3 separate regions of the Homo sapiens genome follow, and all the other regions are linked to region 3. Evidence: promoter capture Hi-C in human tissues and cell types (Jung and others, 2019). All regions are on one chromosome and are shown on one strand. The core of a region is centred on a gene start or on the middle of the fragment in contact, and the rest is flanking DNA. Distances in the headings are between cores, read along the strand shown.

What was found. The method cuts DNA at HindIII sites, captures the fragments that hold promoters and counts their contacts. A contact is called where the count stands out against the background at its distance.
Region 1: the fragment with the promoter of GALNT8 here is called in contact with the fragment with the promoter of FGF6 in region 3 in 1 of the 25 tissues and cell types used here (liver).
Region 2: a fragment that was not itself captured here is called in contact with the fragment with the promoter of FGF6 in region 3 in 2 of the 25 tissues and cell types used here (H1 embryonic stem cells and aorta).

The regions. Positions count from the first base shown.
Region 1 is chr12:4,718,582-4,721,729 of GRCh38, reverse strand. GALNT8 (polypeptide N-acetylgalactosaminyltransferase 8) reads right to left here and starts at 1,330. Exons shown (of 11, transcript NM_017417.2): 1 at 842-1,330. The coding sequence starts at 1,052. GAU1 (GALNT8 antisense upstream 1) reads left to right here and starts at 1,628. Exons shown (of 4, transcript NR_110112.1): 1 at 1,628-1,865. RefSeq lists enhancers at 1-217, 218-1,213, 1,214-2,209. The HindIII fragment of the contact is 21,668 bases long and covers 1-3,148 here.
Region 2 is chr12:3,963,720-3,966,841 of GRCh38, reverse strand. No RefSeq gene overlaps it. Among named protein-coding and RNA genes, the nearest start is that of LINC03141, 47 kb to the left of the region's middle. The HindIII fragment of the contact is 4,388 bases long and covers 1-3,122 here.
Region 3 is chr12:4,444,063-4,447,273 of GRCh38, reverse strand. It overlaps FGF6 (fibroblast growth factor 6), which reads left to right and starts at 1,459. Exons shown (of 3, transcript NM_020996.3): 1 at 1,459-2,049; 2 at 3,038-3,141. The coding sequence starts at 1,704. The HindIII fragment of the contact is 16,147 bases long and covers 1-3,211 here.

The DNA of each region.
Region 1 (3,148 bases), core at 81-2,580, 270 kb before region 3:
CAGTTGAGACAAGAGGAAGGCATCTGTCTCCTGCCCGTCCCTGGGCAATGGAATGTCTCGGTGTAAAACCCGATTGTATATTCCATCTACTGAGATAGGAGAAAACCGCCTTAGGGCTGGAGGTGGGACATGCGGGCAGCAATACTGCTGTTTAAGGCATTGAGATGTTTATGTGTATGCATATCTAAAGCACAGCACTTAATTCTTTACCTTGTCTATGATGCAGAGACCTTTGTTCACGTGTTTATCTGCTGACCTTCTCTCCACTATTATCCTATGACCCTGACACATCCCCCTCTCCGAGAAACACCCAAGAATGATCAATAAATACTAAGGGAACTCAGAGGCTGGCGGGATCCTCCGTATGCTGAACGCTGGTCCCCTGGGCCCCCTTATTTCTCTCTACATACTTTGTTTCTGTGTCTTTTTCTCTTCCAAAGTCTCTCGTTCCACCTAACGAGAAACACCCACAGGTGTGGAGGTGCAACCCACCCCTTCAATAGGCCTAAGGACAGGTCTATGGCCCTTGGGATTCTTATTCTTCTCGTTGCCTGCACATATGTAGATATAATGATAATGCATGTGCACAAGCCCACACACGCATACACACACACATGCTCACCTCCCCCATACTGCTTGCTCTAATTTCCACTTCTACTCACTTCATTCTCAATACCCATCTCCCATTTGAAGGCACAGAATTCAGTGTCAGATGCTTCAATGAGCGACTGAGATGAAAATGTGACCTCTCACCCATTTTTCCTTCCATATCCCTTTTTCCTAAGTGCCCCAAACACACACACCCACACACACACCTTCCAGGTTAGCATTGTAAACTTACTCAGATCCTGCAATTCCACCTCCAAGTGGGAGAGTCTCTTTATCACTGCCCCGTAGCGTTTATTCAGATGTAAAGGAAGCTCCCTGTGGAGACCACCCGTAAACAGGTTTTGTAAAGTCCCCTTGCTAGAAAATACCAGAAGGAGATTGACAGCAATGGCCAGAGTCAGCCCAATGAAGAGGGCTTTGGGGAGTTTCCTCCAAAACATCATCTTCTTCCTGGGGGTCGTCCACTCCCTGTGGGACTGAGTGTGTCACTGCTGGAGCAGGTTAAGAATCAGAACCAGCCTAGCTTTTGTGGGAAAGAGAGTTCTAGGTGCCAGTTGAGTTGGTCTCCCCTGTGTGAGACACCCATGGGAAGCCACGGGTGGCCTCTGAGGAGCAAAGTCTCCTTATTGCCTTCTTTGTCTTTATGCCCCGAGAGGATAACCGCTCAGCGGCTTTCCACAGGTTGCTCAGCGGCTTTCCACAGGTTGCTCAGGGAGATAACACTCCCTTGAAGCAGAGGAGTATAATCAAACATCTTGGCTCCTCCTGAAACCCACTCCCACCCATTTCAGTCATTAAAGATCTTAAGTAGTTTAGACACACGCCTTTGCTCAAGGAAATTCACAGAAACCGCCACTGTTACACATCTTATCGAATGACTCACTGATTAATCCTTTTCCTCATCCCTTCCTCCCCTTCCCATCTGCCCTAAGAACAAAGAGCTTGTAAACCAATAAATTGGGTGGAGCCCAGAGCTCTGGGCCGTGAGCAAGCCTCCAACGCTCTGGTCCCCTGGACCTGCCTTTTAAACGCTTGTTCTGTCTCTTTCTAACTCCTTTGTCTCCGCCGGACTCGGGGTATCCGCTGGGTGGTGTGGGGCTGGTTTCCCCAACAGCTTTCTCTCCACCCAGCTTCATAGATGACACCCTGCCTGCTAGGCCAGATGTTCTCCGGCCAAGAACACTATTATAGCTGCCTGGCTTCTCCCTGAGCAGCGTCAGGTGTGAGGAGTGCGCATGGCAGCTGCCCAGTGACAGGTAAGTCACCTGGACACACCTTGTACTGTCTCAGAAGTCAGAAGAATGCTTGCTCCTGCAGCTAGCTCAGGCTGCCTGGGTGAGAGGCTTTTCTCTATATATGTTTGTTTGATGTTTAATGTTCTCTCTCCCTGGAAAAACCACCTGGGAGACTCTGATAGGGCATGTGAGGTCTGGTCCTGTGGGTATAAGAAGGGGATAAATAGGATGAAGAAGAAATCACGAAGCAAGAAGTCTCTGTACACTTAGATCCTTGCTTTTTTGGAGAGCTGGGATCTAAGATGTCTTTTTACCTAACTCTACAGGGTTTTGGACATAGTAGGTGTGCAACAAATGCTTGTCCCACAAACTTAAGGACAGACTTTCTTGCTAGTTCCTAGGACTTCACTGCCTAGAAGCAGGTGGAGAAGAGCTGGAGGCGGTGCCCGGGGTTGAGCCTCAGGGGATGACTCCGATTCACTGGTCTCTGTCCTTTGCTTGTCCTCTGCACAACTTCATACACTGGGCTTCTGCCCTGCCCCAGCTTCCAGTAACTCCTTTGCCTCCACACCTCACACTTATAATATGTTTTGGACAAATCACCAGTGATCATCATTGTAGAATAAACACATAAAATTGTTCCCCAAGGCTAAAAGTTCAAAGTTCTCAGTCTACTGTCAATCCCGTCAAAATCACAGCTTCCACCCCGGCCTGGCTCTTTGGACTATTTACTACGTCCCAAACACAGCACATGGTGACATGTGCTGAGGCGGACATGTGGATTAAAGGAAAGTAATGTGGCTTTAGGAAAAACAGGATGAAAATGAACAAAATGAAAAGGAATCACTTCTTCTGTTTCGCAGGGATAGAAAATGTCTCCCAGCCTCCCACTTGCAAATTAGACTCAAAACATAAGAAACGCATGATCCAGCCAGGCGCAGTGGCTCACGCCTGTAATCCCAGCACTTTGGGAGGCCGAGGCAGGTGGATCACCTGAGGTCAGGAGTTCAAGACCAGCCTGGCCAACATGGTGAAACGCCATCTCTACTAAAAATAACAAAATTAGCTGGGCATGGTGGCAGGCACCTGTAATCCGAGCGACTTGGGAGGCAGAGGCAGGAAAATCGCTTGAACCCAGGAGGCGGAGGTTGCAGTGAGTCGAGATCGCGCCACTGCACTCCAGCCTGGGCAACAAGAACAAAACTCCATCTCAAACAACAACAACAACAACTACAAAAAACAAACAAACAAAAAAGCATAACCCTTCTGCTTCTGGGACAAGAAGAAATACCTACATTTATCTT
Region 2 (3,122 bases), core at 409-2,908, 480 kb after region 3:
TAAAGTGTCATAAAAAATGGAAAGGGGTACTGCTACCAATAGAGCAGCTGGGAGTTAGGTGAACATGAATATTTTGAGTTTGCTCTGCCCGGGAGTCAGTGAAGACAGGAAAAGAACATGTGTGCATTCCTACTCTGCACAGACAGGGATTGATGGATGATGCTGTCGCTGGAAATATTTCTGTAGAGTAAGTTGCTAAACTTTCAGAGAGAAACCAGTGGGAAGCCAGGGAAGATTTCCTTAAAAGAGATGATTCTGAAGAATACCCGAGATGCCTGAGGTCTCAGTGCTTATCCTCACTTTTTAAAAACCCAAATGCCTCAGTTATCTCTGACACCTTTAAAGATGCTAGTACTGTACTATATCATGACTTGTCTTTCTGATCTCTGTTGTATGATCTATGTGTGCTCTTGGATTTCTGCCCAGCCATGTCATTGTTGATGTCTGTACCCATCAGTTGTATAGCCAGTAGTTCTCTTTGTGAGGATTGCAGCCCCATGCCACAAGCAATTATAACAAATATCAAAACACTTTGAGTCATTATGCTCCTTAGGTCAAGGGGCTGGGTCAAACAGAGCCAAAGGACATTTTCAGGAGCCCTATTTCTTCAGCTGATTTCTCTTCTGTTCTCCCTAACTCCTTGTGTATTCCAGCCATAATTCCTGCTGAACTTGGCTTAATATTTTGATCTTAGTTTTCATCCTGGTGGCCCAAACCTATGAACCATTCTTTTTTCTTATGATATGGAGACTTAACACCTTTGTTGAACATTTTCACAGCAGCCTTTCAGGGTTGGCCACACCACTCAGCAGCACTCTGCTCGTTCTGGGGCAGCCTTCAGGACATGGTATACAGAACGGGAAGAAAACTGACATTCTAGTCTTCTTTATGCTACCAAGTAACTGTGTGACCTTGGGTGAGTTGCCTTACCACTCTCGCCCTCAATTTGTTCATCTGTTAAAATTCTGGGCTGGATCCACGCCTTCTTGCTCTAAAGTTCTGTGATTTATATGTTTTGCCACAGTGAATGGGAAAAAAAAATCCCTGACCTTTGAATTCCTCCAAGGTCCCATCCTTCCTGTGGCCTTCCTGTAGTCTGTTTCTTGTGAACTATTAAAGAGTTAATTTCTCGCTCGTGGTCAGCAGATAGGCTTTGCTTGTGGTCATGTAGGGATGCAGGCACCTTTCCTCTCATGGCTGTGCCTTCTCTAGGTCCAAAGGGGGAAAGAGATTGGGAATGAAACAGTATTGGTTTCTACGGGTCAGGCTGGAACAAAGTATACATGACTTTGCTCCCTTTCCATTGGCTGTGATTTAGTCACATGATGACCTCTCATGGCAAGGGAGGCTGGAAAATGAAATCTGATTGTCTGAAGGAAGAGGACATGGCCACGGGGAGCACCAGCAGTGTGGGAAACCTAGGCACAGCTTGCCTTGAGGCAGAGGCTGGCATGGATCGCCTCTGGGAAGCATACAGATCTCTTTCTGCACAGAGGTTCTCACATACCAGTTTAAGCCAGGGAGTCAGTTGACTGTAATGAAAAATATGTTCATTCAGCAAATAGTTGTTAACATCACATTTGCACCAGGAACTATGAATACACTAAAAATGAATAATTCATAGTCCGAGGCCTCAGGGAGCTCAGTCTAGCAGATGAGCTAAGACAAAAACAATTGTCATCTGCAGTAGTATGTACATACTATAATGCGTACATGTAACCAGTATAGGAGAGAGACAATGTATTATAGGATTTCTAGAATGGAGAATTATAGTGTTTGATGCATGCCTTGGAAAACAGGAAGGAGTCCTACAGAGGGATACATGATTGGGAAAGAGGTGAGCGGAGTTGGGGAGAGATGACAAGATGTAATGCCGTGGTGGAAGGATGAGAGTTAGCAGACCTGGAAGAGTTTAGACTGCGTTTGTTATAAAATGAGTGCCACTGACAGTCTTGAGCATTTGAGCCTGTGGGCTTTAGAGGAAAAAGTGATCTCTGGACACATATCATATTCTCCACCCTTGGCCCAGAGCCTTGCCCTGCAAAGGCTAACCTGGTTCTGGAAGGAACAGGAGAAAATTGTGGATGACTTAGACTCCTGGAAAATCAAACCAAACCCAGGTCCACAAAAGGGGCGGTGGTGGAGAGGGATGGAGAGGTACTACGGGTGATCTACGGACATCGCCTCTCCTGGAGACCCACACTTTGGGGAGAGTAAACATTCACTGACCTCTAGTGGTCAAAATGGCGCCCAAGCGGTCCCACAAGCCCGGCTGCAAATGATAGCTGTTGGGGAAGAAATTGCTTAGATTAAATCCTCGCTTCTTTCCAGACTTTCCTTTTTCAGCCTCCATGGGCTTTCCCCCTTCATCTAAATAAATCTCTCCACCACTCACCGTCCCAACAAGGGTGCCTGGCCCAAGCTGGGGCGCTTCAGGAATGAAGGAGACAAATGGTGCCCATCCCGTCTCAGTGTGGGCCACAGCCTGCTGGTGCTATTCTTGCTTCATGAAGCTTCCTGGCTGTCAGTGGATAGCAATGCATATATTAAAACTCGGTATCCTACTCAAGGTTAAATTTTATTAGATTGTGAAGTGGGGTCAAGTTTTCTAATAATAATCACTAATGCTTAAGGAGCACTATAAGCCAGATGCCATTCTAAGCACTTTATATTGATTGATTGATTGAGACAGAGTCTTACTCTATTGCCCAGGCTGGAGTGCAGTGGCACAATCATAGCTCACTACAGCCTCCAACTCCTGGGCTCAAACAATCCTCCCACCTCAGCCTCCCGTGTAGCCAAGACTACAGGCGCGCACCAACACGTCTGGCTAATTTTTCACAATTTTTGTAGAGATAGAGTATCCCTATGTTGTTCAGGCTGGTTTCAATTGATCCTCCTGCCTTGACCTCACAAAGAATTGGGATTATAGTTATGAGCCACCATAGCCGGTCCTCAGTACTTTACATATGTGTGTGTGTGTGTGTAGTAAATATATATATATATATATGTTTACTTCTTATAAAAACTCTTAGAAGTAGGCACTGTTGTCTTCTCTCATTTTAAAGATGAGGAAATTGAGGCATGAAGGGGTTAAGTAACCAGCTCAAGATCACAAAGCT
Region 3 (3,211 bases), core at 210-2,709:
CCATGGAACTCACCCCAGGAGCTTTTCCAGGCTGCCTGCAGCCTGCAATGTGGGTGTAGAGTGTGGCTAAGGGAGCTGCCTGCTGGGACCAGCTCTACTGCTCAGGACACTCAAATCCATCTGTATGCCACTGTCATCACCCCACACATACTCTCTCCAATCCCGGCAAAATCAGTGCTAATGTCTCACCAACAGATTAAGGCCTGGATTGAAGTACAAGAAACAGGATTTTTAACTCAAGTTAATTCAATTCCCCAGCGACCCTTGTTAACTTATTCACCCTCAGAGACGTATTAATAGTTCTGTCTTATATTGTATAGAAATTTGTGCAGTGAGTTTTCTGGTAGCTTTACATTTTTTTTCTCACTTCAGTTAGACATGTAATCTATTTAAAAGTAATATGGGAATAAGATAAATCAGTGTAGGAATAACTTCCTGGCAGAAATATTTTTACTAGTTTCTGAGTGTAATATCAGCCCAGCAAAAGTTATCTGCAAATATAGAAGTTCTCATGTACATCAAAGACACTCAAGTTTTTTTTAAGAAATAAATCATTTTATGCTACTGAAATAACTCTGTGATGTGCTATTGGCATTTAAGGAGCTAAACAGACTCTATGGGCCAGCCAACTTCTACTGCAAGCATTAGACATGCACAGGCTTTAGACTCAGGCACACCTTAGAAGTTCTGGCTTTGCTACTTATTAGCTATGGTAACTCGGGCAGGTCATTTATCCTCTCTAAGCCTCAACTTCCTCATCTGTGAAATGGGAATAATATCAGTCACATGCCAGGGATAAATCCAGGGAGAATGGCCAGGGGGCTGTGTCAAAGGCCAGACACAACTTCCACCCCAGGTGAATGTCGGGACCAGGACAGTGAGCAGGCAAACCTTGCCCTTGCCCTCCTTCCCTCCACAATCTTAAAGCTCCTTGAACAACCCCCATCCCCACCCCCTGAGAATGTCTGTGCCCTCCTGCTGAAAGGGTTTGGCCTTTCAGTGTTCCCCTCCACCATGAGCTGTTTCCATGAAAAGATCTCAAGGGTGACTTGAGGCTACGGTCATCACTACCACAAGCCTTTTCCCATCCCTGCCTCTACCTATTGCCCTCTAAATAAGGAAGCCAGCGCTGCCAGGCAAAGAACTTCTGCCCAATATGGGTCCTGGGTGGCCTCTCGCCTCTCTCTTTCCCTGGGCCCCCAGCCAGCTCCCCCCTCCCCCAGAGATGCTCCCTGCTCACTTCATTCCTGCCTCATAGTTGGAATGACAGTGGCTCCCAGAACCCCTGGGGAGTGTGGAGGGTGATGGGGGTCTGGGGAGGCAGCCAGGCCCAAGAGCAGGTTAATGTTACAGCCCTGGATAAGTGAGCTGGGCGGGTTGACGTCAGGGCGATGATGGGTGGAGGGGAGGGCCGGGCTGCTGAAGCAACTATAAAGATAGGTCAAATCAAATATCATCAACTAGGGACGGAGCAAGCGGGCGAGCTAGAGAGCGTCCCCGAGCCATGGTCTCTACCGGCCGCGGCTCAGCCTGGGTCCCTCTGCTCTCAACCCGAGTGCCCGATGGAGGCTTTGGTTTCATGTCAGCAGCCTTCATCTGCCTTCCAAAAATAAGCCCCTGCCGCCATGCCGGAGGGAGAAAAACAAGAAGGGCGGTATTTTTAGGGCCATTAATTCTGACCACGTGCCTGAGAGGCAAGGTGGATGGCCCTGGGACAGAAACTGTTCATCACTATGTCCCGGGGAGCAGGACGTCTGCAGGGCACGCTGTGGGCTCTCGTCTTCCTAGGCATCCTAGTGGGCATGGTGGTGCCCTCGCCTGCAGGCACCCGTGCCAACAACACGCTGCTGGACTCGAGGGGCTGGGGCACCCTGCTGTCCAGGTCTCGCGCCGGGCTAGCTGGAGAGATTGCCGGGGTGAACTGGGAAAGTGGCTATTTGGTGGGGATCAAGCGGCAGCGGAGGCTCTACTGCAACGTGGGCATCGGCTTTCACCTCCAGGTGCTCCCCGACGGCCGGATCAGCGGGACCCACGAGGAGAACCCCTACAGTGAGTGCCAGCTGCAGCCAGTCGGGACGCTTGGGGGTTTGGGCTCATGCAGGGCTAAAAGGTGAAGGGGCCCTGCTCTAGCGGACAGGATGCACGATAAAGGGGGCAGAAATGCTGCTCACCACTTAGATGATTCCACGTGACCCTGCCTGGGTGCAAGCTCAATATACTGCGGTCCAAGCATCCTGGTGTTCTTTGCCATCGCCTTGGTTAGATCCTCAGTGGCACTAACTATTTCAGCATTACTGGCCCATCTGATGCCTTGTAAGACCATTAGGAACCATTAGTCTGGGAAGCCCCCAAGGCCTGGGTAGGGAGAATCAGTTAGTATACTTGGATCAAATTTGACACAAGCTCATTTTTATTCAGCTTCTTTCTTGGAGAAGGAAGGGAAATTCAATTGCAAAATGTCCAACTGAAGCACATCCTTCTTTTTATTTCAGCGGCTCCCTCTGTCCCCAGGTTCTTATCCTGCAAGCTGCCTGCAAGCTGCCAGCTTGCTGTATGGTTAGTCTCCTATCCAAGAAAGGATGGGGGCTGCAGGATCCAAGAAAGCCATCAGCTATGGTGTGGCTGCTGTGTTTTCAAGATTAAGTGGGTTGAGATTTGTTGAAACATGTAGAGTACACATTAAGAAGAAGAAGAAGAATCAGAATTTATTTTTTTACTCAAGTCAAGGACCTCAAGTAATTATGTCACTGAAAGCCCAGATTCAAAGCTCATCTTAAACAGATAGCTAAGTGGTCACTGCAGCCCCTAACTCTGCTATCAGAACCTTCCCTTGCAGAACTGGATTTCTAACAGCACAATGGCAGCACTCGATGAGTCCAGCAGCCAGGGTCTCCTAGAGTTAGAGGGATCATGGATGGGGCAATGGAGAGTCTGGCTTTCTAGGAGAAGGGGGATGGACTGAGATGCCCTTGTCGGCTCAAGTTCCCACTCTGATTTGCACAAGCCTTAGGTAATGTGGCCCCCCTTTCCTTGTCAGGCCTGCTGGAAATTTCCACTGTGGAGCGAGGCGTGGTGAGTCTCTTTGGAGTGAGAAGTGCCCTCTTCGTTGCCATGAACAGTAAAGGAAGATTGTACGCAACGGTGAGTTCACCAGGCCGGGGAAGTGCCAGGTTTACAAGGCTTGATGCTTACACAGTTGAAGAAAATAATA